Regions from separate parts of the Homo sapiens genome. Here regions 1, 3, 4, 5, 6 and 7 are each linked to region 2. The links are contacts of gene promoters, found by promoter capture Hi-C in blood cells and fetal thymus (Javierre and others, 2016). All regions are on one chromosome and are shown on one strand. The core of a region is centred on a gene start or on the middle of the fragment in contact, and the rest is flanking DNA. Distances in the headings are between cores, read along the strand shown.

What was found. The method cuts DNA at HindIII sites, captures the fragments that hold promoters and counts their contacts. A CHiCAGO score of 5 or more calls a contact.
Region 1: a fragment that was not itself captured here is called in contact with the fragment with the promoter of NKD1 in region 2 in 2 of 17 cell types (activated CD4 T cells and naive B cells); the score reaches 6.0 in activated CD4 T cells.
Region 3: a contact is called between a fragment that was not itself captured here and the fragment with the promoter of NKD1 in region 2, in 2 of 17 cell types (non-activated CD4 T cells and naive CD8 T cells). The highest score is 7.6, in non-activated CD4 T cells.
Region 4: a fragment that was not itself captured here is called in contact with the fragment with the promoter of NKD1 in region 2 in 7 of 17 cell types (non-activated CD4 T cells, naive CD8 T cells, total CD8 T cells and 4 more); the score reaches 12.2 in non-activated CD4 T cells.
Region 5: a fragment that was not itself captured here is called in contact with the fragment with the promoter of NKD1 in region 2 in 2 of 17 cell types (total B cells and total CD8 T cells); the score reaches 7.0 in total B cells.
Region 6: a fragment that was not itself captured here is called in contact with the fragment with the promoter of NKD1 in region 2 in 1 of 17 cell types (non-activated CD4 T cells); the score reaches 5.3 in non-activated CD4 T cells.
Region 7: a contact is called between a fragment that was not itself captured here and the fragment with the promoter of NKD1 in region 2, in 2 of 17 cell types (naive CD8 T cells and activated CD4 T cells). The highest score is 6.2, in naive CD8 T cells.

Annotation. Positions count from the first base shown.
Region 1 is chr16:50,102,146-50,105,486 of GRCh38, reverse strand. HEATR3 (HEAT repeat containing 3) reads right to left here. Exons shown (of 15, transcript NM_182922.4): 14 at 3,052-3,228; 15 at 1-548. The coding sequence ends at 426. Among named protein-coding and RNA genes, the nearest start is that of HEATR3-AS1, 37 kb to the right of the region's middle. The HindIII fragment of the contact is 3,825 bases long and covers 1-3,166 here.
Region 2 is chr16:50,546,283-50,550,060 of GRCh38, reverse strand. NKD1 (NKD inhibitor of Wnt signaling pathway 1) reads right to left here and starts at 1,665. Exons shown (of 10, transcript NM_033119.5): 1 at 1,483-1,665; 2 at 1,312-1,344; 3 at 506-639. The coding sequence starts at 1,507. RefSeq lists silencers at 1,343-1,532, 1,573-2,022. The HindIII fragment of the contact is 5,196 bases long and covers 1-2,072 here.
Region 3 is chr16:50,120,310-50,123,995 of GRCh38, reverse strand. No RefSeq gene overlaps it. Among named protein-coding and RNA genes, the nearest start is that of TENT4B, 31 kb to the left of the region's middle. RefSeq lists an enhancer at 366-866 and silencers at 2,091-2,150, 2,441-2,530. The HindIII fragment of the contact is 210 bases long and covers 2,316-2,525 here.
Region 4 is chr16:50,156,557-50,160,262 of GRCh38, reverse strand. The region is part of intron 1 of TENT4B (terminal nucleotidyltransferase 4B); the gene reads right to left. Among named protein-coding and RNA genes, the nearest start is that of TENT4B, 5.1 kb to the right of the region's middle. The HindIII fragment of the contact is 5,097 bases long and covers 1-3,706 here.
Region 5 is chr16:50,049,218-50,053,050 of GRCh38, reverse strand. The region is part of intron 2 of HEATR3-AS1 (HEATR3 antisense RNA 1); the gene reads left to right. Among named protein-coding and RNA genes, the nearest start is that of HEATR3, 15 kb to the left of the region's middle. The HindIII fragment of the contact is 9,594 bases long and covers 1-3,833 here.
Region 6 is chr16:50,137,700-50,141,191 of GRCh38, reverse strand. No RefSeq gene overlaps it. Among named protein-coding and RNA genes, the nearest start is that of TENT4B, 14 kb to the left of the region's middle. The HindIII fragment of the contact is 2,454 bases long and covers 991-3,444 here.
Region 7 is chr16:50,083,329-50,087,023 of GRCh38, reverse strand. HEATR3 (HEAT repeat containing 3) reads right to left here. Exons shown (of 15, transcript NM_182922.4): 8 at 2,997-3,087; 9 at 2,733-2,890; 10 at 2,373-2,455; 11 at 673-809. Among named protein-coding and RNA genes, the nearest start is that of HEATR3-AS1, 19 kb to the right of the region's middle. The HindIII fragment of the contact is 2,772 bases long and covers 890-3,661 here.

The sequences.
Region 1 (3,341 bases), core at 5-2,504, 440 kb after region 2:
AAGTTTTTTTTTTTTTTTTTTTTTGGAGACAGGGTCTCCCTCTGTCACCCAGGCTGGAGTGCAGTAGCGTGATCTCAGCTCACTGCAACCTCTGTCTCCCAGGTTCAACCGACTCTCCTCCCTCAGCCTCCCGAGTAGCTGGGATCACAGGCATGTGCCACCATGCTTATGCATGCGGTTTCACCATGTTGGCCAGGCTGGCCTCAAACTCCTGACCTCAAGTGATCCACCCGCCTCGGTCTCCCAAGGTGCTGGGATTATAGGCGTGAGCCACCATGCCTGGCCAGGTTTTGAAGTTTTTACAGAATGTACAGAATGTAATCATTAAAAAATGACTTTCAGAAACATATACATTCAAAGAAAACCTTTTAGTATTCTAAGCATTGAATACTTTGGGGGAAGAACTGGTTTCTTTTTTGGATTGTTTAAGAAGTCAGTCTTTTCTCAACAGTTTCTTGATAAGCAATAAATCTTCGCAAATTCATTTTCACATTGTCAAGAACACACAGCTGATCTGTGCTATAGTTACCTCTCCCTTCTTTACGTATCTGCAAACAAAAAACAAAAAATCATATATGACTTGGTAGATATGATTAATTCATTTAAATAAAGTATTTAATTTAGGGTGTATTTAACCATTTGCTGAAGCAGATAGCTGTAAGAATTTGGAAAAAATGTTTTTACTTCCAAGGTAAATGGAACTCGGTAAGTAAAGAATAAACTGAGAATGTGCATTATTAAAAATGATAGTTACAAAGGTGACTGAATGGCAGGTGGTAGGAGTTATATAAACTATAGAAAGGAATTATGTAAACCATGAATTGGGAAAATAACCCCTAACCTCTGAAAGGTCTGCTGTTCAGATTGATTTTCCTAGTTAGTATGCATTGCTATGGTAATAATACTTAATTGTTTTTCTTCTCTCAAAGGTATAAAGCCTTAATGAAATTCCTTTGTTAGGCTGGGTGCATACTCATGCCTGTAATCCCAGCAGTTTGGGAGGCCGAGGCAGGAGGTTTGCTTGAGTCCAGGAGTTCAAGACTAGCCTGGGCAACACAGTGAGACCCCACCTTAAAAAAAAAATTCCTTTGTTAGCCAGAGGTTAGTCTGTAGTGTTGTGGTTTTTTTGTTTTTGGAACAGGGTCTCTCTCTGTCGCCCAGGCCAGAGAGCCGTGCTGCAGTCATGGGTCACTGCAGCCTCGACCTCCCGGACGCAAGTGATCCTCCTGCCTCTGCCACCACAGTAGCTAGGACTACAAGCAGCGCACTACCATGCTGGAGTAATTTTTTTAAATTTTTAGTAGAGGTGGGGTCTCACTATGTTGCCCAGGCTGGTCTTGAACTCGTGGGCTCAAGTGATCCTACCACCTTGGCCTTCCATAGTGCTGGGATTACTGGTGTGAGCCACCATGCCCAGCGCTGGTTTTGTTTGTTTGCTTGTTTTTTGTTTTTAATAGAGATGGGTCTTGCTTCATCGCCTAGGCTGGAGTGCAGTGCTGCAATCCACTGAGCTCACTGTAGCCTCCAACTCCTGCACTCACACGATCCTCCTGCTCAGCTTCCTGAGTAGCTGGGATGACAGGCATGAGCCACCACTTAATGGCTAACTTAAAAAAATTTTTTTGTAGAGACAAGTTCTTGCTATGTTTCCCAGGCTGGTCTTGAAATCCTGGACTCGAGTGATCCTCCCACCTGGGGCTCCCAAAGTGCTGGGATTACAGGTGTGAGCCACTGCGCCTGGCCTGTGGTTTTTTATATCAATTGTATGGAATCTGAGTTTGATCTCACCTCTAGTCTAGAGCAGTGGCTCTCAGGTTTTAGTGTGCAACGGTATCATCTGGAAGGCTTGTTGAAAAATAGACTGGTGGGCCCATCCACAGAGTCTATGACTCAGTAGGTCAGGAGTTGGGGCCGAGGACCTGCATTTTGAATAAGTTATCAGGCAAGGGCTGATGCTGCTGATACAAGGAGGGCACTTTTGAGAAACACTGCTCAAGAGAAGTTCTTGATTGTACATAAATGCATTTTGCAGCTAAATATACACTGAATAGCCTTTAACACAAATTGTGGCTTCATTTAGCAAAAAAAAGAGTTTCACATAAATAACTACAGGCTAGCCTCTGGCTAGGAAGAAATCTCATTAGAGCTTTATACCTTTGATAAAAGAAAAACAAATGTTATTACCACAGCAATACATACTGAGTAGGAAAATCAATCAGAACAAAGACCTTTCAGAAGTCAGGGGTTATTTTCCCAGTTCACTGTTTAACCTTTTTTAAGCACCTGCTTCTGCAGAGTTTGATGACTCTAACTATTAATATATCTGCTTTCCTTGAAGCTGCAGGGAAATAGGGGATATTTTTTTCTTATCTTGCAAGCTCTTTATCCAGAAATTTAAAGGACTGTAACCTTTAAGAACAATATGGCTGGGCACAGTGGCTCACACCTGTAATCCCAGCACTTTGGGAGGCCAAGGTGGGCAGATCACCTGAGGTTGGGAGTTCGAGACCAGCCTGGATGACAAGGCGAATCCCCGTTTCTACTAAAAATACAAAAATTATTTGGGTGATGTGGTGGACACCTGTAATCCCAGCTACTTGGGAGGCTGAGGCACAAGAATCACTTGAACTGGGGAAGGGGAGGTCGCAGTGAGCCAAGATCGCACCACTGCACTCCAGCATGGGCGACAGAGTGAGATTCTGTCTCAAAAAAACAAAAAAAAGTAAAATTAAATAAATGCAAAATGTGTATGAAAGTGCTTTGCAAAATACAGAGTATAATACTGACATATATGAAGCATTGTCAAAATTACTAAACTTAAAAAAAGAAGAACTTGTCAGATACCATTTTAGCTTCAGTTTCAATGATTCAGTAGTCACACTGTTGAGCTATGACTCAGTCAACGAACATTTTACAAAGTACTGGGGATGCTGTGCTACATATGGGGATTCGTCATGCACATGCTTCTGAGTTGCACAGCGGTAACTACACACACCCTTGTCCCCACAGAATGTTCAGACTTATGTATTTATAAGTTAAATGGCTACAAACCTTCATTTTAAAGACCGGCTGGAATTCTTTCAGAGCAGATAATAATTTAATTTGAATCGAGGCTCTTTCGGCTTCTTTACCATCTGCAAAAACATCAAAGAGGGCATCCAAAGCTTCTCCTGCTACCACAAGGGAAGGATCTTTGGTGGTAACTTCAAGCAGAAAGCACCCAATGTTCTGGAAACAACAAAACACATTTAGTATGACTAACACCAGTCTCCAAAACAAGTACCAACTTTGAATGTGGCAATAACTCATGCATACTATTTTATATACAAATGCCAGGGAAA
Region 2 (3,778 bases), core at 416-2,915:
CCCTAGATCTGCTACCCAGAGGGCCGCCTGCTCTACTGGGGTTCCTGTACAGGTGGTACTGATGAATGCCACAGACAATCAGAACATATTCAGATCCTGGGGCCAGCACAGCTCTGCCTTCCACCCAGACACCCCTAATACCCCCTTCTCTCTAGCCCCTACTCCACCTCCACCTTTGAATGCTGGTGGCAGAAACAAGGTAGAAGTCAGAGCAGGCCCCCAAATCCCGCCGGTACAGACACGATTCCCCATCAACTGGACCTTCACCACCTCCCCACCTAGGACCTTTCCCCCAGGCAGCCCTCTGCCTCCAGCTGGGCACTTCGAGGTTCTCCAAGGCATGCGGGCAGAGGGTCGCGTTGGTGGGGCAGGGGGCAGCTGAGAAGAGATTTTCAGACCCAGAAGCTGTGCAGGAAAGTGCTCAAAGTTGGGGTGCATGGGTTTGGGGACCCATCTCTGAGGCTGAAAGGAGGCCAGGAGGTGGGGCAGGGGTGGGGAATCATACCCGGGTGCTTCGGCCTATGGTGCCCGCCAACCGCAGCTGTCGGGGTCCCGAGACACCGCCCGGGCAGCGCTGTCTCCCGATCCACTCCTCGATGCCCTTCCGAGCCCAGGCAGCGCTCACGGCGAAGCTGTCACCTGGGACGGGGACGACATGAAGCCCCTGAGTCTGGCTCCAGGTGCCAAAAGTTACCCCCGCGGAGGGAAGAAGGAGGCGCGGTGGGAGGCGAAGGACCACGGCACGGGGGCCAGGAGGGGGTTCGCGGGCTGGGGCAGGAGCCAAGAGAGGGACGCGGGTAAGTAAAGGGGGGTTCAGCGAAGCCCTAGGAGCGAGGAGCCAGAAGGGGGCAAGAGGGGTGAGCAGTACCCCAGGAGGACGGGTTTAGGATCAGACCAGGGAGCACTGGCAGCCAGGACTGCGGAGGAGAGGGCTGGGGGTCAGGAGAGGGGCCGCAGTAGGTGCAGGAGCCAGGATATCGGAAGAAGGGCCGGGGGGCAGGAAGAGGGGGCAGGGTCTTGCGGGGAGGCGCTTGGGGGTCTGAAGAGAGGGTGCCGTGAGAGCCGAGGGCAGGGACGCGGGAGGGGGAGGGGTTGAGGGTCAGCGGTGGGAGCGCAGGACCGCGGGGAGCGGGTAGGAGGGACAGAGGAGGGGGCGCGAAGGCTGCTCAGGGAGCGGGCTTGGGGGGCCGGTGGCCGGAACTGGGGCTTCGGGGTGGCCCTGGTCATAAGACCTGGCGGGCTGGGCCGTTCTGCCGCGGCCGCGGTGTCCCCCGCGTCCATCCCCGAGGTCTGCGCCCCGCGCGCCCCTACCTTCCGGGCTCTCCCTGCGCTTGCACACGGCGGCTGCAGGCACATCGCGAGGCGGCGGCGGCGGCGGCAGCCGCGGCGGCGGGAGAAGGAAAGAAAGGAAGGGAGAGAGTTAGCGACCGCGGCGGCGACGGCGGCGGGGCCCGGGGCGAGCGCGCGGGCGGGGGCACTGACCCGGCTTGGAGTGAAGTTTCCCCATGCTGGGGCTGCGGCGGCCGGGAGCGTCCCTAAGCCATGCGCCCGGCCCGCGGGCCTGGCGCCTCCCTTGGCTCTCCTCCTCCCGAAGCAGCCCCCGAGCCGAGCGGAGCCCGAGGCGGCGCCGGGACGCGCTCCTGCCGCCGTCGCCGCGGCCCGACTGACGCCCGGGAGCGCCGAGCCCCCAGCCCGCCGCCGCGGCCCGCGCCTCCCCGCGCGCCCATTGGCCGGTGCGGCGCATCAAAGGCAAGGCTGGTTGCGGCGGGGGCGGGGCCGGAGGCGGGGCAGGGCGGGGACGAGGGCGGGGCGCTGACGGGAGGGGCGGGACACAGTCCGCGCTCCCTGCCGCGGTCTGGGGCCGGGGGCCGAGCTCCAGGGCTGGCGACCCGGCGGGGCGGCTTGTCCAGGAGGCGTATTGGGACAGAACAGCCCGGCCATCGCTAACTGTACTGTCACTTCCCTCCGCTCCACGTTCTCTCTAAACGGGCAGGGCGGGACTCGGCGGCTCCAATTTACAGGTGGGGAAACTGAGGTCGGGAGCGGAGACCTTAGCTGCTCAGGTGCAAGCTTCGGCAGCGCTGCCTTTTCCCAGTCTTCCCACGACCTACCTTCTGCAGAAAGTGTTCATTACCCGCCCCGTGACCCGCCCCCCACCACCGCACTCCTCTAGTTTCTTATTTGGGGAGTCCAGGAGGAGCCCCCAGCGCACCCCGGGCCAGTGTGAGCCCAGCCCTCTCCAGGCAGCGACAAATGTCCAAAGCGCCCCGTTATCAGCCAGTCTCTGGGATCTCCTCGTCCGGGGGCCCGTGGGTGCCCGCCCGGGTCGGGGCGCGCTGCCAAACTGCGCGGCCCGGAAGGGGGTAACCGCTGAGTCTTTGATCTTCCTTGGTTTCCGCTCCCCGCTGCAGTTCGCCAGACCCAAGGGTTTGTTTGTTTTGTCTGGGGAGGTCTCTGCGGGGAGGTCGCGCGGGGGGAGGGGGATGGTGGCGGTCGACATCAAGGGATTCCACCCCACCTTTGTGGCTCTCAGAACGCCTGCCCCCTTCTGGGGACACTGTGGGTCCGTGTTACGCTCGTCCTGGCACCAGGCAGCTCTGGCGTGGGAAAAGAAAACCCGCAGCTCAGAGTGAGACCAGCCCCGACCTTTGGAGTGAATTACCTGTGCTCAGTTTTGTGATCTGTATAATGGAGGCTCCATTCTGCCCTTTTTGCCGACTCTCTAGAGCAGCACTGCCCAATAGAAATATAATGTGGGCCACATTTGTAATTTTAAATTTTCTTGTCGCCACATCTTTTAGAAGTAAAAAGAAATAGATGAAATATTAATAATATATTTCGCTTAACTCAATACAGTCAGCCCTCCTTATTCACAGGTTCCACATCTGTGGCATCAACCATCTGTGGACTGAAAATATGCAAAAAGAATAATACAGCAAAAATAAAGAATAAAAAACTTTTTAATATAGTATAACAACTATTTACATAACATTTACATTGTATTAGGAATTACAAGGAATCTAGAGATGATTTAAAGTATTCAGAAGGATGTGTGTAGGTTATATGCAAATACTACAGGACATTTTATATAGCGGACTTGACATCTGGGGATTTGGGTATCCTCTAGGATCCTGGAACCAGTCCCCAAAGACACCAAGGGAACACCATATATCCAAAATAGTATAATTTCAAGATATAATGAGATATTTTACATTCTTTGTATTGCGCTAAGTCTTTAAAATTCAGTGTGTATTTTACACTTAAAACACATCTCAAAGACTAGCCATATTGCAAGTGACCATTTGCACTTGGCTAGTGGCTACTGCATTGGGCAGCATCGCTCTGGAAGATCTACATGTCTCAAAAGGACATTAGGAATTCACAGCCCCCCAGAGTCATAAATCTCTTCATCCAAGTGTCTTACTTTCATGTTCCAAGCTTCCTTTTTTAACACCCTTTTTGGTGGAAACGAAGGCTAATGTTATAAGCAGGTACACTAAAATCCTGTTGGCCAGGTGGTTTCATTTGAAGAGTGCTGAAACCACAAAAATATATTACTGTTGTCATTTTTATGTTACAATTCTTCATTCAGTACTTCTGATGTGCCAGTCCTCATCCTCCATCATGTGTAGCCCTCGCAACCACTCTCTGATGCAGACTCATACTTGTTCTAGAAAGGAGGGAACCTATTCAACTCAGAGAGGTGAACTCACTTGCCCAAGGTCACAAAGTTCATCCATGACCCAATTAGGAACTGAACTCCAATCTGTTGATTTCA
Region 3 (3,686 bases), core at 1,171-3,670, 430 kb after region 2:
CTGCTGGCCTGGCCTGAAGCAAGCTGCTGCTTGTCAACTGCACAGGGGCAGCCTCCAGGAACTGAGGACCTCTGGCCAACAGCTGGTAAAAATCCAAAGCTCTCCATCCTATTCCTACAAGAAAATGAAGTCCACTAACCACTGGAGTGGGCTTAGAAGCAAATTCTTCTCCAGTTGAGTCTCCAGATGAGAACACAGCACTGTTGATAGCTTGATTGCAGCCTGGCAAGAACCTGAAACAGATAACTCAAGGAAACAGTGCATGGACTCTAGACCCACAAAAACTGAGAGAGACTAAATGTGTTTCTTTAAACTGCTGCATTTGCAACAATTTGTTACACAGCAATAGAAAACTAATATTGATTGGTTTGTTCATTGCTCTATCCTGAGTACATAGGACAGGATTCAAGCATACATTAGGTACTTAATAAATATTTGTTGAATGAGTATATTGTTACAGAAAAGCAAAATAGCAAACAAAGTGGGCCAATGTTATAATATGTTACCAGTCATAAGAGTGCCCTGTCTATGTGCATACACATCGTCTATCTCTAGAAGGGTATACATGGAAGTAACAGAAGACCAGGGGAGGAAAACTAGAGCATAAGAAATCCATGAAAAATTGAGACTTTCACTTTATACTCTTCTGAACTGTTATTTATTTATTTATTTATTTGAGACAGGGTCTCGCTCTGTCACCCAGGCTGGATCTGCAATGGTGTGATCATGGCTCACAGCAGCCTCCAATTCCTGGACCCAGGCAATCCTCCCACCTCAGCCTCTTGAGTAGCTGGGACTACAGGCAAGCACCACCACATCCAGCTACTTTTTTTTGTTGTTTTTTTGAGACGGAGTCTCGCTCTTTCGCCCAGGCTGGAGTGCAGTGGCACCATCTCGGCTCACTGCAAGCTCCACCTCCTGGGTTCACGCCATTCTCCTGCCTCAGCCTCCCAAGTAGCTGGGACTACAGGCGCCTGCCACCATGCCTGGCTAATTGTTTTTGTATTTTTAGTAGAGATGGGGTTTCACCGTGTTAGCCAGGATGGTCTCGATCTCCTGACCTCGTGATCTGCCCACCTCGGCTTCCCAAAGTGCTGGGATTACAGGCATGAGCCACTGCACCCAGCCACTTGTTTTTGTTTTTGTTTTCTTTTTTTTCATTTTTTTGTAGGGACGAGGTCTTGCTCTGTTGCCCAGGCTGGTCTCAAACTCCTAGGCAAGGAGGGAAAAATAAGGGAAAAGCTTGGCCCGCTTGTTTTGCATTTTACCTTGGAAAAGGCCCTCATGGCTTGGCTTGACACATGTCTGGAAAAAGAATTCCTAAAACAAAGGAAATTTTTTTAAAAGAGGAAAATAAGAATTTACCTTTCTGCTGCTTTTGTTGTTGTCATTTGTTTGTTTTGGGGGTTTTTTTTGAGATGGAGACTCACTCTGTCACCCAGGCTGGAGTACAGTGGCACAACCTCAACCCACTGCAACCTCTGTCTCTTGGGTTCGAACTATCCTCCTGTCTCAGCATCCTAAGTATCTGGGACTACAGGTGCATGCCACCATGCCCGATTAATTTTTTTGTATTTTCAGTAGAGACGAGGTTTCACCACGTTGGCCAGGCTGGTCTTGAGCTCCTGAACGCAAAAGATCGGCCTGCCTCAGCCTCCTAAAGTGCTGGGACTACAGGCGTGAGACACGGTGCCTGGCCCTTTTCTGCTTCTTTGTGATGTAGTCAAAACATAACGTGCTATTGACTCTGAAATTCTTTGTTTTTCTGGGGGAGGCCAAGGCAGGAGGGGCTCTGCAGGTACTGGATTACAGGTGTGAGCCACAGCACATGGCCTGAATTTCGTTTTTAATCTATAAATGTATCACTTAAACATGCACCCCCAAAACCAAATAGCTCCTATGACTTCCAATTTCAAGTAAAATCCCTTCTTCAGCACTTACTCCTTTACTTGGCGCTCTGCCTTCCCCATCCGGGAAACACCCTTGTCTGTTGCACCTGCCCCGTAATCCCCCTCCAGGATGTTTTGTGGTGAGCGCCTTCAACAAAAGAATAGCTACAGAATTAAATGTGTTTGGAACCACATGCACATCGTGCTTTGACTACCTCACAAAGGAGCAGAAAGGCAAATTCTGTTTCCAGTAATGTGCAAAGTCAAGCCACAAGGACCTTCTCTGAGGTAAAATGCAAAATGAAAGGGCCAAGCTTTTCCCTTATTGTGATTGTGTAACCAGCCTAACAGACATTTAATTTGAGAAAAAATTTGAATAATAATATGGAGTTACCCTGGAGTTTTGGGATGGTCTAAGAGTAAGCTTTGAAAAATGTGGCCAAAATGATTATAATCAGGGTGGGGGGAGCAATTTCTGTATTTATTTGGCTGACATGAAAAAAAAATCCAGCTGAAAATCTGCAGGCTGACAAATGGACAGAACCCATTACAGAGCAAGAAAAACTGAGTCAGAGAGGACAGGCTAGAGCTCTGGGAGGCCACACACCTTGTGCCAGAAATCGAAGCTGCCAAGCTTATCACTTACAAACCTTGTCATATCATGTTAGTGGGACGGTTTCAAATGGATAGCCCCTGATCTGTTTTGAAACTAGCCAATATAGCTGGGTGCGATGACTCACACCTGTAACCCCAGCACTTTGGGAGGCCAAGGCAGATGGATCACTTGAGGTCAGGAGAACGAGACCAGCCTGGACAACATGGTGAAACCCTGTCTCTACTAAAAATACAAAAGTTAGCCAGGTGTGGTGGTGGGCACCTATAATCTCAGCTACTCAGGAGGCTGAGGCTGGAGAATTGCTTGAACCTGGGAGGAGGAGGTTGCAGTGAGCCAAGATCGTGCTACTGCACTCCAGCCTGGGCGACAGAGCAAGACTCCATCTCCAAAAAAAAAAAGAAAAAAGAAAGAAACTAGCCAATATAACCAACTTAAAATATAATGGAAGTCATTTCTCTTAGGGCTATAGAGAATATGTGAGACACAGTGAGTGGACTGTTTCTTGTGATCACATCTTATTTACCTTCAGTAATTAGCAAGGGACTGTGACCACAGCAATACAAGATTATTGACCTGTTCAAAGTTCTAAAACAGGACCTGAAAAACACAACCATAATTAATGTTGAATGATTAATCAACATCTATGTGTTGATGGCTGAAAAACCTTGAGTTATAAGATATTATCTCTGTCTAGCTTTTTAAATCATAATTAGTTTTTTTTGTGTGTGTGTATGTGTCTGTAAGACATTACAATTTTGCCTAGCACAGTGGTGAGTCCCTATAGTTCCAGCCACTCAGGAGGCTGAGGCGAGAGGATTGCTTGAGTCCAGGAAGTTCAAGACCACCCTGGGCAACATAGTGAAACTCCATCTCAAAAAAACAAACAAAGCAGCTATAAAATATTGCAGTTTCTCACAGGTGACACTATGGCTACGTCTGCTTGATTATTCAATCTGTTCAAGCCGGACAAGTTGTCAACGTGGCTACAAGTTCATGACTTTGGATCCTATGAAGATCAAAAGTTATGCTTAGGCCAGGCAAAGCTCACACCTGGTAATCCCAGAGCTTTGGGAGGTCAAGCTGGAAGGATCACTTGAGGCCAGGAGTTAGAGGCTGCAGTGAGCTATTATTGCACCACTGCATTCCAGTCTGGGTGACATACATAAATAAATAAGGTGGCA
Region 4 (3,706 bases), core at 777-3,276, 390 kb after region 2:
ACAGTATTCAATGATCACAGATTTTGGATAAAAGATGGAAGTTGTGGAATGAAAGTTAAGTTAGCGGCCGGGCGCAGTGGCTCATGTCTGTAATCCTAGCACTGTGGGAGGCCAAGGCAGGCAGATCATTTGAGTCAGGAGTCCAAGACCAGCCTGGCCAACACGGCGAAACCCCGTCTCTACTAAAAATACAAAAATTAGCCGGTGTGGTGGCGGGTGCCTGTAATCCCAGCTACTCAGGAGGCTGAGGCAGGAAAATCACTTGAACCCAGGAGTGTTGAAGTTGCAGTAAGCCAAGATCACGCCACTGCACTCCAGCCTGGGTGGCATAGCAAGACTCCGTCTCAAAAAACAAAAACAAAACAAAACAAAAAAAACAAAGAAAGTTAAGTTAGTTGAACACAGTATACTAAATTTTGAGACATTCTTAAATATGAATTATATTGTTAGTGTACAATCTACACTATAGAAAACCTAATGTCTTCTTAAAAGCGCATGTCAGTACCCAAATCAGTAAAATTCAATAACCTGAAGGTTCTAGTTCACTAAGAATTACTGTGGGCTATATCTGCAAATGCACAGAAATTAAATAGAGCACAAATCACTTGGAAAAAGGCCTCTAAATTCTTTCATATTCAATCTACTTTAATCTGTCTGATTGCTTTGGAGCCCAGCAGTAACACCAATCTCATTGGTAACACTGTGTAGAAATAAGCAGAGAGAGGCCGGGCGCGGTGGCTCATGCCTGTAATCCCAGCACTTTGGGCGGCCGAGGCAGGTAGATCACCTGATGTTGGGAGTTTGACACCAGCCTGACCAACATGGAGAAACCCCATCTCTACTAAAGATACAAAATTAGGCATGGTGGCACATGCCTGTAATCCCAGCTACTTGGGAGGCTGAGGCAGGAGAATTGCTTGAACCCGGGAGTCAGAGGTTGCAATGAGCCAAGATCGCGCCACTGCACTCCAACCTGGGCAACACAAGTGAAACTCCGTCTAAAAAAAAAAAAAAAACAGAAAGAGAGAGAGAGGGAGGGAGCGAGAGCGAGAGAGAGAGAGAAAGAGAAGCAGATATAAGCCCTAATGCAGTGCTGAAAAAAGGCATGAACATCTTGGGCTTACTATGACATGATGAACAATGGGCACTAGAGGATGGCACATACAAGAGGATACTGCCCTACGGCAGTGAAGAGCACTACATCTCAGCCCTCCAAATCTCAGCTCCCCACTAGCAGGTCCACCTATACATCCCCCTACTATCTTCTTACCCAAACCAATAGTCCTTCTGGCCCTTATTTCCAAAAACACCACAAATATTTCCCCAGTCACTCAAGTTCAAAGCTACAGTGTGATTATTAAATCCACTTAAGGAATCTGAATCATCTCCATCCTTACCCTGTAATACCTCTCACATTCATTCTCCCTTCACATCCCCATTCCCACCATCCTAGTTTAAGAAATTGTACCTTAAACCCAAGTTTCCCAACAAGGTCTTGATGTCCCCACAGCCAAATTTGTACTCCAAAACATTGTTTTGAACAAGTCATCCAAGCCTTAAAAAAGCATCTACAGATCTGGCAGTACAGCCAACAGAAACCTATCATGAGCTTGGACAAACACCAAGCACCTTCCAGAAGAAGTTTCTGGACCCAGGGCTCAAGACCAAGTTCTGCAAATTCCCTGTATTTGCTACTTCTTGCCATCCCCTCTTTCTCCATAGTGATAAACAATTAAGTCTTTCAAAAGAAAAGGGTTTATGGCTCGTTTTCATGGACAAGCAGCAGCAGGTGGACAGCATCCTAAACCATGGCCAGTTCTGGAGGGGAGCAAAGCCCAAGAGAATCAGTGGAAGCAACTTAAAACATAAAAGGCCAGGCCAGGCATGGTGGCTCATGCCTGTAATCCTGACACTTTGGGAAGCCAAGGTGGGCAGATCACTTGAGGTCAGAAGTTCGAAACCAGTCTGGCCAACATGGTGAGACCCCATCTCTACTAAAAATACAAAAATTACCTGGGCATGGTGGCGGGCGCCTGTAATCCCAGTTACTCGGGAGGCTGAGGCAGGAGAATTGCTCGAACCTGGGAGACGGAGGTTGCAGTGGGCCAAGATTGTGCCACCACACTCCAGCCTGGGCAAGAGAGCAAGACTCCCTCTCATTAATTCATTCATTCATTCATAATTAAATAAATAAATAAGGCCAGGCATGGTGGCTCACACCTGTAATCCCAACATTTTGCTAGGCGGAGGCGGGAGGATCACTTGGACCAGGAGTTGGAGACCTTCATGGGCAACATGACAAGACCCCATCTTTACAAAAAAAACCAAAATGAGCCAGGCATGGTGGCACTCGCCTGTAGTCCCAACTACTCAGGAGGCTGAGGTGGGAAGTTCACTTCAGCCTGGGAGGCCAAGGCTGCTGTGACCCATGATTATGACACTGCACTCCAGCCTGAGCGACAGAGCAAGACCCTGTCTCAAAAAAAATTAAAAAAATAAATTTAGGCCAGGCACAGTGGCTCACACCTGTAATCCCAGCACACTGGGAGGCCAAGGCATGTGGATGGCTTGAGCCCAGGCAAAGGCTGCAGTGAGCCGAGATCACACCACTGCACTCCAGCCTGGGCAACAGAGCGAGACCCTGTCTCCATAAAATTAAATTAAAATTTAAAAATAATAAAACACAAAATAAAAAAATGTTTTAAAAAGCAAACAAAATCCCTGGTCTGTGGGTACATGAAGAAGTCTGAGATGATGAGCTCAAGAGTTTTATTTTGAAGACTTTAGGATGAAATCCAATATCTTACTCTACATATTAAAGAAATGTCCATGTCATGTGTAAGAGGGAACACATAATAAAAGGAAAGTTAAACATAAGTGGGCTATACCAAGAGCATGAAGTGAGTACCTTTGAGAGTTCAGAGGAGAAACCAAAAACATCAAGGACTTAGGCAATGCAAGAGGTCAGCATTCTAAATAAATCAACCAATTTGGTGGAAGCAGAGAACACAAAAGACAGCTGCGAGAGACTATATAGCTGTCCCATGGTTCTAGTCCATTTTCACATGCTTTCTGGTCTCCTCTCCCCATCTGGACTATCAGTTCAGAGGCCAAGAACCACCACAATGTGTTAACCTATTAGCTAACTATCAGTCACATCTTAAGAATTCAGAAAACAATGGTAACAGTTTTAGTATATTTAATCTCAGAACAGCATAACATCGAGGTGCACTCTGAATTCAGATTTTTTTAAATACCTATATTAAAAATAGAAAAACTTTCTAAAGTTAAGAAATAAGGATACTGGCGAGAATGGTGGCTCATGCCTATAATCCCAGCACTCTGTGAGGCCAAGGTGGGAGGACTGCTTGAGGCCGGTTGAAGACCAGCCTAGGCAACAAATGGAGGCCCCATCTCTACAAAAAGTAAAAATAAAAAAATTAGGCAGGTGTGGTGACATGTGCCTGTAGTCCCAGCTACTCCAGGAAGCTAAGGCAGGAGGATCACTTGAGCCCAAGAGTTAGAGGATACAGTGAGCTATGATCACGTCACTCCACTCCAGCCTAGGCAGCAGAGTGAGACCCAGTCTCAAAAGAAAAAAAAGAAATCAGGATAATGAGGCCGGGCACGGTGGCTCATGCCTGTAATCCCAGTCCTTTGGGAGGCCAAGACGGGCAGATCACCTGAGGTCAGGAGTTCGAGACCA
Region 5 (3,833 bases), core at 217-2,716, 500 kb after region 2:
ACATTCATCATTTCTTTGTGTTGGGAATATTTGAAATCTCTTCTAGCAATTTTTATTTGTTTTGTTTTAAATTTTGATTTTTTATATTGACAAGAAATAATTGTGTATATTCATGGGGTACATAGGGATGTTTCAATACATATAATGTATAGTGCTCAGAGCATGGTAATTAGCATGTTCATCATCTCAAACATTTATTATTTCTTTGCATTGGGAACGTTCAATATTCTCCTTGTAGCTATTTTGAAATGTACGATAAATTGTTGTTAATTACAGTTACCCTATTGTGATACTGGACACTAGAGCTTGTTTTTTCTATCTGACTATGTGTTTGCACCCATTAACCAAGCTCCCTCCCCTACTTCCTTCCAGCCCCTGGTAACCATCATTCTACTCTCCACTTCCATGAGAGCAACTTTTTTAGCTTCCACATGTGAATGAGAACATGCAATATTTGTCTTTGTGTGCCTGGCTTATCTCACTTAAAATAATGACCTCCAATTCCATCCACGTTGCTGTGATAGGATTTTATTCTTTTTTGTGGCTGAATAGTATTCCACTGTGTATATATACCACATTTTCTTTATCCACTCATTGGTTGATGAATACTTAGGTTGATTCTGTAACTTGGCTATTGTGAATAGTCCTGCAATAAACATGGCTGGAGCAGGTATACCTTTGATATGCTGATTTCCTTTCCTTTGGATAAATACACAGTGGTGAAATTGCTGGATTATACAGTAGTTCTATTTTCAGTTTTTTGAGGAAACTTCATGCTGTTTTCCATAATGGCTGTACTAATTTACATTCCCACCAAAATTATATAAGAGTTCCCTTTTCTCCACATCCTTGCCAGCATTTGTTATTTATTTATTTATTTATTGTCTTTTTGATAATAGCCATTCTAACTGGAGTGAGATGATAGTTCATTGTGGTTTTGATTTACATTTATCTGATGATTAGTGCTGTTAAGCATATTTGCATATACCTGTTGGCTATTTGTGTGTCTTCTTTTGAGATGTGCCTATTCATGTGGTCTTTACCCCTCCTTTTTTTTTTTTTTGAGATGGAGTCTCACTCTGTCACCCAGGCTGGAGTGCAGTGGCATGATCTTGGCTCACTGCAACCTCCACCTCCCAGGTTCAAGCAATTCTCCTGCCTCAGCCTCCAGAGTAGCTGGGACTAAAGGCACATGCCACCACGCCTGGCTAATTTTTTTGTGTTTTTAATAGAGATGGGGTTTCACCATGTTGGCCATGCTGGACTCAATCTCCTGACCTTGTGATCTGCCTGCCTCAGTCTCCCAAAGTGCTGGGATTACAGGTGTGAGCCACCACACCCAGCCTTTGCCACTTTTTAATGGGATTATTTGTTTTTTTGCTGTTGAGTTGCTTGAGTTCCTTGTATATTCTGGATATTAGTCCCTTGTATATTCTGGATATTAGTCCCTTGTTGGATGAATGGTTTGGAAATAATTTCTCATATTTTACAGGTTGTCTCTTTACTCTGTTGATTGTTTCCTTTTCTTCTTAGTTTAATATAGCCTCTTTTGTCTGTTTTTGTTTTTGTTGCCTGTGCTTTTGAAGTCTTAGGCATAAAATCTTTGCCTAGACCAATGTCCTGAAGCATTTTCCCTATGCTTTTTCTAGTAGTTTTATAGTTTCAGGTCTTGCATTTAAGCCTTTAATTCATTTTTAGTTGATTTTTTGTACGTGGTGAGAGAGGGGTCTAGATTCATTCTTCTGCATAGGGATATCTAGATTTCCCAGCACCGTTTATTGAGAGTGTCCTTTCACCAGTGTATGTTGTTGTCACCTTTGTCAAAAATCAGTTGGCTGTTTGTGGCGGAATTCACACAGAAAAAAAAATCAGTTGGCTGTAAATATGTGGATTTACTTCTGAATTCTCTATTCTGTTCAGTTGGTCTGTGTGTCTGTTTTTATGCCAATATCATGCTGTTTCGTTTATTATGGCCTCGTAGAATCTTTTGAAGTCAGATAGATGCCTCCAAACTTTGTTCTTTGTATATTGCTTTAGCTGCTTGCATTCCCATCTGGTTTTAATTATGTCAAGGCAAGCCCTGATTCCTCTAAAGGTTACTCTATTTTTGTACTTGTTTTATTTATTTTTAACTGATCAATGGGCTAATATCACTTCAGTTTTTAAATAAGTAACTATTAATATTAGTGATTATGTATTTTTGTTTTTGCATTATCTTCCATGCTACATCAAAATCAGGATTTATCAAATTTTCAGGTAACAATGGAGGTAAGAAATTTTTATTTATTTTTTCTTTTTAATTAATATTTTTGAGACAGGGTCTGACTCTGTTGCCCAGGCTGGAGTGCAAGGCATGATCTCAGCTCACTGCAGCTTCCACCTGCCAGACAGAAACCATTCTTCCACCTCAGCCCTCCTGAGTAGCTGGAACTACAGGTGGGCACCACCATGCCTGGCTAATTTTTGCATTTTTGGTAGAGACAGGGTGTTGCCATGTTGCTCAGGCTGGTCTCGAACTCCTGGGCTCAAGTGATCCTCCCAACTTGGCCTCCCAAAGTGCTGAGATTACAGGCGTGAACCACCACACCCAGCCTGGAAGTAAGGATTTTTTAAAAGTAACTGATGGAGTGACCGGGCGTGGTGGCTCATACCTGTAATCCCAGCACTTTGAGAGGCCAAGGTGGGTGGATCATTTGAGGTCAGGAGTTTGAGACTAGCCTGACCAACAAGGTGAAACTCCATCTCTACTAAAAATACAAAAAAATTAGCCGGGTGTGGTATTGAGCGCCTGTAATCCTAGCTACTTAGGAGGCTGAGGCAGGCGAGTCACTTGATGCCAGGAGGCAGAGGTTGCAGTGAGCTGAGATCCTGCCACTGCACTCCAGCCTGGGCAACAGAGTAAGACTCTATCTAAAAAAAAAAAAAAAAAAAAAAAAAGTAACAGATGGCTTGTTTTACGTATCTCAAATAAATAAATAAAATGTTTACAATTGATTACTTAGGGAATCTGTGTCAAATGTGATAAAACATGCAAAGTTAGGTAAACTCTAAAGAATCATGTCTGTTGATGCCACATTATACTTGCAAAAGAAATAGATAACCTTGGCTGGGCGCGGTGGCTCACATCTGTAATCCTAGCACTTTGGGAGGCCAAGGCAGTCCGATCACAGGGTCAGAAGTTGGAGACCAGTCTGGCCAACATAGTGAAACCTTGTCTTTTCTAAAAATACAAAAAATTAGCCAGGCGTGGTGGTGTGTACCTGTAATCCCAGCTACTCGGGAGGCTGAGGCAGGAGAATCACGTGAACCGGGGAGGCAGAGGTTGCAGTGAGCCAAGGTTGCGCCATTGCACTCCAGCCCGGGCAACAGTGTGAGACTCTGTCTCAAAAAAAAAAAAAAAAAAAAAAGGAGAAAAGGAAATAGGTAACCAGATAACCTCTCTATAAAACATTCAGACTTACAATTTTCATTTCACTTATTTAACCAATAGCAAAAGGGACAAAAATAAACCAATTGCTGATATAGCCTTTCAATTATTTATTTTGTACTAAGAGGTTAAAACTTTTTTCAAATAGAGAACTAATATTTAAAAAATTTTTTGGCCAGGTGTGGTGGCTCATGCCTGTAATCCCAGCACTTTTGGTGGCCAAGGTGGAAGGGTCATCTGAAGCCAAGAGTTTGAGAGCAGCCTGGGTTATATGACAAGACCCTGTATCTATGCAAAAAAAAAAAAAAAAAAAAAAAAGAGGCCAGTGTGGTGGCACATACTTGTTGTCCCAAGTACTCAGGAGGCTGAGGCAGGAGGATCATTTGAACCCAGGATTTCAAGGCTG
Region 6 (3,492 bases), core at 968-3,467, 410 kb after region 2:
GCCAAAATGTCTTTTATTTCTACTGTTCTAGAAACAAACTTGCTCAGTTTACAAGCCACTTTGGGGTCTTGGTGTGTGATAGTTAATTTTATGTGTCAACTTTATTGGGATACAGGGTGCCCAGATTAAACATTATTTCTGGGTGTATCTGTGACAGCGTTGGTAAAGCAGATTTCTTTAGAGCTCGTATGTGAGCCTGAAGAAGACTTCTGTCTCCTATAGCCACAGAGCTGAGACTGCTGAAAATCAAATGCAGAACCTCATTCTGTGACTGACTGAATTGTATCCAGCCTCACAGGGCATCTACTGTTAAAGTGAGCATATTGATTGGGAAACAATAGGATCCTGGAAATTGAAATAGGGATGTGCGGGAAGACCTTGATAAGAGACATTGAGCCCCGAAAGTCTGATGTATCTCCATTGCCAGTGGAAGAGGCCTCCCTACCCCAGTGGTATGGGTCTCCCCATCACTCTCCCAGCCCCATCTCAGGGAATTAACTCTGCATTGCCTGAGGAAACTGTAAAGGCCTCCACTGAGGCAGTTGACAGGCAAGACTATGCTGATTCTGTTACGGGACCACCTCAACAACCCCCTTTGCTTCTAGACCTGTAACTAGACCCAAGTACCAGTAGGTCCCTAAGGCGAAGTACAAAGTGTGACCCAAGAGGAGGGATGCGATGCTCCAAAAGAACTACAGCAGTCCCCCCAATCCATGGCTTTGCTTTCCACAGTTTCAGTTACCCACAGTCAACCATGATTCAAAAGTATTAAGTGGAAAATTCCAGAAGTAAGCAACTCATACTTTTTTTTCTGTTTTTGTTTTGTTTTGTTTTCTTTTGTTATTGAGACAGATAGGGTCTTGCTCTCCACTCAGGCTTGAGTACAGTGGTGTGATCATAGCTCACTGCAGCCTTGAACTCCTGGGCTCAATCCATCTTCCCATCTTGCCTCCCAAGTTAGCTGGGACTACGGGTGTGCACCACCAAGCTTGGCCAATTTTTTTGTTTTGTATCGTTTTGTTTTGTTTTGTTTTGTTTTTGTAGAGATGGTGGTCTCACTGTGTTGTCCACGTTGGTCTTGAACTCTTAGCCTCAATGGTGCCTCCCACCTTGGCCTTCCAAAACGCTGGAATTATAGGCATGAATCACTATGCCCAACCAACTCATAATTTCAATTGCGTGTTGTTCTGAGTAGTGTGATAAAATATCGTGTCATTGCTAAATGGACTTAGGGTTGTTTAAAAGAAATAAAGAATATAAATAAAATAACACAATAAATTAAAAAAAAAACTTACACCATCCCACCCAGGGTGCGAATCATCCCTCTGTCCAGCATACCTGCACTGTGTATGCTATTCACTCATTTTCACTTAGTAGCTGTCTCAGTTATCAGATTGACTGTCATGGTATCACAGTGTTTGTGTGCAAGTGGCTTTTATTTCACTCAATAGTAGCCCCAAAGTAAGAGTAGTGATGCTGGCAATTCAGATATGCCAAAGAAAAGCTGTCAAGTACTTCTTCTAAGTAAGGAGGTGAAAGTGCTCAACTTAATAAGGAAAGAAAAAAACTCATATGTTGAGGTTGCTAAGATCTATAGTAAGAACAAATCTTTTATCTGTGAAACTGTGAAGAAGGAAAAAGTAATGAAATTCATGCTAGTTTTGCTGTCACACCTCAAATTGCAAGTTAGACTACAGTGACTGACAACTTTCATTACAGCATGTTGTTATAATTGTTCTATTTTATTATTAGTTATTGTTAATCTCTTCCGGTGCCTAATTTTTGTTTGTTTGTTTGTTTGTTTTTGAGACAGAGTGTCACTCTGTCACCCGGCTGGAGTGCAGTGGCACAATCTTAGCTCACTGCAACCTCCACCTCCTGGGTTCAAGTGATTCTCCTGTCTCAGCCTCCTGAGTAGCTGGGACTACAGGCACACACCACCACGCCTGGCTAATTTTTTTTTTTTTTTTTTTTTTTTTTTAGGAGAGACAGAGTTTTGCCATGTTGCACCAGCTGGTCTCAAACTCCCGACCTCAGGTGATCTGCCTGCCTTGGCCTCCCAAAGTGCTGGGATTACAGGCTCAAGCCACCATGCCTGGCCTAATTTTTTTTTTTTTTTAGTGCAGTCAAGGTCTTGCTATGTTGCCCAGGCTGGTCTCAAAGTCCTGGGCTCAAGGGATCCTGTCTTCTCAGCCTCCCAGCATCCTGGGATTACAGGCTTGAGCCACCACACCTGTCGTAGAGCCTTTCTAACTCCCTAAACTGAAGAATTAAAGGCAGAATCTCTGCTTAGTGGGCCCAAATCAATTAATTTAGCCTGACCCAACCTTATGTTCTTTCCACCATCATCGCATACCCTTAGTATCCATTCTCACACATGCTCTCCCATTTCTGTCCATATAAATTAGAAAACTCAAGTAGAGTAGTCCCCTCTTAGCCTAAGGGAATATGTTCCAAGACCCCCAGTGGAAGACTGAAACTGTGGTTAGTACCGAACCCTACATATACTATGCTTTTTTCTATATACACATACCTATGGTAAAGTGTAATTTATAAATTACTTGCTGGGCACAGTTGCTCATGCCTGTAACCCCAGCACTTTGGGAGGCTGAGGTGGGCAGATCACTTGAGGTCACGAGTTTGAGACCACTCTGGCCAATATAGTGAAACCCCATCTGTACTAAAAATATGAAAATTAGCTGGGCATGCTGATATGCACCTGTAGTCCCAGCTACTCAGGAGACTGAAGTGGGAGAATCACTTGAACCCGGGAGGTAGAGGTTGCAGTGAGCCAAGATCGTGCCATTGCACTCCAGCCTGGGTGACAGAGTGAGACTCCATCTCAAAAAAAAAGCCAGCCAGGCATGATGGTGTGTTCCTGTAGTCCAAGCTACTCAGGAGGCTGAGGTAGGAGGACCATTTGAGCCTGGGAGGTCGAGGCTGCAGTGAGCCATACTCTGGCCTGGCTGATAGAGTGAGACCCTGTCAAAAAACAAACAAACAAACAAAAAGGCCAGGCAAGGTGGCTCACGCCTGTAATCCCAGCAGTTTGGGAGGCTGAGGAGGGCAGATCATGAGGTCAAGAGTTCGAGACCAGTCTGGCCAACATGGTGAAACCCTGTCTCTACCAAGAATACAAAAATTAGCCAGATGTGGTGGCGGGCACCTGTAATCCCAGCTACTCGGGAGGCTGAGGCAGGAGAACTGCTTGAACTCAGGAGGCAGAGGTTGCAGTGAGCTGAGATCGAGCCACTGCACTCCAGTCTGGGTGACAGAGCAAGACTCTGTCTTGGGGGAAAAAAAAAGGAAAGAAAAGAAAAAGCTCTAACACTTCAGTTGGTTGGCTCAAACATGGAAAACATGGACCAAAACCTGGTCCATGGTGAGCAAATTGGAAATGCCGTACCTGCCTTGGTTTTATGTAGGGAAAGGAATTCAGAAGCTTAGGGAGATTGGCATGCTAGAGTGAATTTGTCATTTAAGGCCTATTCA
Region 7 (3,695 bases), core at 1,026-3,525, 460 kb after region 2:
ATTCTGTACTACATACATATATTAATCAAACTTAAATGCTTGTAACTGGGAAGAAAATAATAGAATAGTACTCAATTATTATTATTATTATTTTGAGATGGAGTTTTGCTCTTGTTGCCCAGGCTGGAGTGCAATGGCACAACCTCAGATCACTGCAATCCCCACCTCCTGGGTTCAAGCGATTCTCCTGCCTCAGCCTCCCGAGTAGCTGGGATTACAGGCATCTCCACCACCACGCCCAGTTAAAGTTTTGTATTTTAGTAGAGCGGTTTCATCATGTTGGCCAGGCTGGTCTCCAACTCCTGACCTGAGGTGATCCTCCCGCCTCGGCCTCCCAAAGTGCTGGGACTACAGGCATGAGCCACCGTGCTTGGCTGAGAATTATCCAAATACCTTAATGAGGCCTTTATGATATTTATGATACAGCCTTGACTGGCCTGATATAACTGGATGCAAACAATTTTAACAAAAAAGAAAATTATAAGCCCAGGAGCTGCTTGCATACCTCGTTTTGACTCTGTACCCCATGGCAACTATAAATACATGATTCCTGTGTCTGGGAAAGGTTTCTGCACATTGGATGACAAACAATATACATTTACAAAATCCAAATTCCTGCCCCTTCAAAATTCTGTTCCGTCTGCGTAGTCTTTCGCAATAAAGTCTAAATACCTGGTTGAGAAAAAAGCAGCTGTGACAGATGCTGTGCAAGCGTCTGAAGGGCTGCGGCTCCTCCCAGGTGCTCCACATCCAGGAGGGACACAAGACTCTGGAGACAGAAGAGGGCTCTGCACTGAATAGTGTTCATTCTGGAAAGGAAGTGAAACAATGCCATCTGATTCTCCAGAAGTTGCCCATCAGAATTCAGTATTAACTTTTAGCCTAAGCTTCACGTTCTGACTGGAAATATCTGTAAATACAAGGTATCTATGGCAGTTAGCAAAGAATCACAAGGTGAACTGTTTTTTGTGTTTTCTAAAATTTATCATCATTTTTTAGACAGGGTCTTACTCTGTTGCCCAGGCTGGAGTGCAGTGGTGTGATCACAGCTCGCTGTAGCCTCAACCTCCTGAGCACAAGTGATCCTCCTGCCTCAGCCTCCTAAGGAGCAGGATTACATGTGCATGCAACCACACCTGGCTAAGTTTTTTATTTTTTGTAGATAGGGGTCTTGCTATGTTGCCCAGGCTGCTCTGGAACTCTTGGCCTCAAACAATCCTCCTGCCTGTACCTTCCAAAGTGCTAGAATTATAAGGTGAACTGTTAATCTGCCAAATCAAACTGCTTGAATATTCACGGCCTCTGATACACAACTCATTCATGAGTCATGAGGAATATGTTTTAGAAAAATTTCTATGTAGGGTAGCATCCTTAAAATTATAATTTTCTTCAGACAGGGTCTCATTCTGTTTCCCAGGCTGGAGTACAGTGTCACCATCATAGCTCACTACAGCCTTAGACTGCTGAGCTCAAGCAATCCTCCCACTTCAGCCTCCTAAGTAGCTAGGACTACAGCTGAGTGCCACTATGCCAGGCTAATTTTTGTATTTTTTTTTCCTTTGTAGAGATGGGGTCTTGCTATGCTGCCCAGGCTGGTTTCAAACTCCTGGCCTCAAGTGATCCTCCTACCTTGGCCTCCCAGAGTCCTGGGATTATAGGTGTGAGCCACCATGCCCAGCCTAAAATTATTTTTAATTGTGAAATGTGACATATATACAGTTAAGTACACAACATACATAGAGAGTTTAACAAACAGTCTATGAAACCAAAACCCATGCACCTGGGAAAGAAATTAACACTGCTGGACCCTGAAAGCCCCTGTATCTCTTCCATATAATATCCCACCTCCCTGACACCTACAGGTAAGCACCATACAGACTTCTATGGTAAACATTTCCTTGCCTCTTTTTTTTTTTAATAGGTTTATCACCAAGGTATGCATCCCTGAACAAAATAGTTCAATGTTGCCTGTTTCTCAACTTTGTAAAAACTGAATCACAGTGTGTGTATTCTTTTATGTCTCGCTTTTTTGGTTCAACAATGTAAGTTCCATCCGAGTTGTGAGTAGCTCTAATTCAGATCCCTTTTACTGCTGCATGTATTGTACTGCGTGATTTTGTCAAAATTTATTTACCATTCTAACTCTGATGGACAACACGTTTGTTTATGGGTTGGGGCAACTGTGACACACACTGCTATGAACACTCTCATATACATGTATTCTAGGGCATGTGGGCACATATTTTTCTGGTATATATACCCAGGAACAAAACTTCTGGGTCCTAGGGGGAGTCAGCACCTTCTATTTAATAGCCCATCATTTCATAAAATAAAATAATGACAAATGTTTTTGAAAGCAGAAGAGTTCTTACTTTCTAATCAAAGGTTTCCAAGTAGGGTTCCTAGAACATAGGTCAACTGCAATGCTGTTTGGAAAGGCAGTTTTCTCAAAAATCTAGATTTAAAAGAGGCAGTAAAGCAAAGGTTAAAGAGTAGTCATTTAACACGATTCCCTTACATAATTCCAACATATTACTCCTAAGTGAAATGGTTAGGCTTCATATAGAATGACCTTTTCGCCTATTTCCAGTACTGTTAGGCTCAGCTTTGTCTCAGATCTTACCACCATCTACAACCTGGAAGTGTGAGCTTGCTTCTTTTGTACACAAAATGAATACCTTGCTTAAGCCTTTCCCATGCTCCACGGTAAGCCTAGAATGAAAATGGATTACCTTCTTTGGGATGAGGTAGTTGGTGAGAGCCGTGTGAACTTCATGGGAGAGGCAGAGGGGAGAAAACAGCTGTCCCCCGCACTCACTGAAGGAATTCTCCATAAATGCGTCACTTTCATCACTGCTAGAAAGCTCTTCCCATTCGTCATCAGAGGGATCTGGGAAGCGGGCAAACCACGCAGAACTGGAATAGTTAAGAAAATCTCCACGGGAGTTTCCCTCTTGGCTCAGGGGGAAAATGTCTAAATGTAAATGTTAACAAACCTTCATTGCAGCACATGTTGACAATAATTTCCAGAGCAGTCTGTTGGGCTGTCAGCAATGCTATAGTCTCTCTCAGTTCCTTGTCAGTGGGCTTAAAAAAAAAAAAAAAAGTAAATGACCAACTCTCAATGGTTGGGAAAATGTTTTTGGGGAATTTCCTTAGTGAAAGCCTACTAGAAGATTTTTGCGCTTGGAATAGAGCACACGGGGAATGGGGTAGGTAAAAGAAAAGTCATGAAGTGCCAGAAGTACAAACGAGCATTATAATTCCTCTTGGTACAGTGGAGCATGCCCCCGTTAACTGGGTTTCCATCTATCTGCATGGCTATTCCCCAAGCGTCACTTAGTTAGCTGGAGAGAACAGACAAATATTCAGGAATTCTGAACAGAATTCACCCTGAAACTTATCTACTGTGTCAAGAAGTAGCTGGGCATACTAAGATTTAAACAAGAGTTCATTTCAGACACCAGGCACTTAGAAACACCAAACCTGCTTTTAGATGCTTAGCTTAGATGTCTTTCTTGGAATGGCTGCGCTAACACACACTACTAACGAGCCCTTATGTGACCTGTAGAACTTGCTATGGAGCAGACAGACTTGCTTCCTGCCTTTCTGTAAAGACTATAATAAAGCATTTCTCTAAGACTAAAGAAAGAAGGAAGCTTTTTTTTTCTCTGAAAATATATAACGCCAACTTA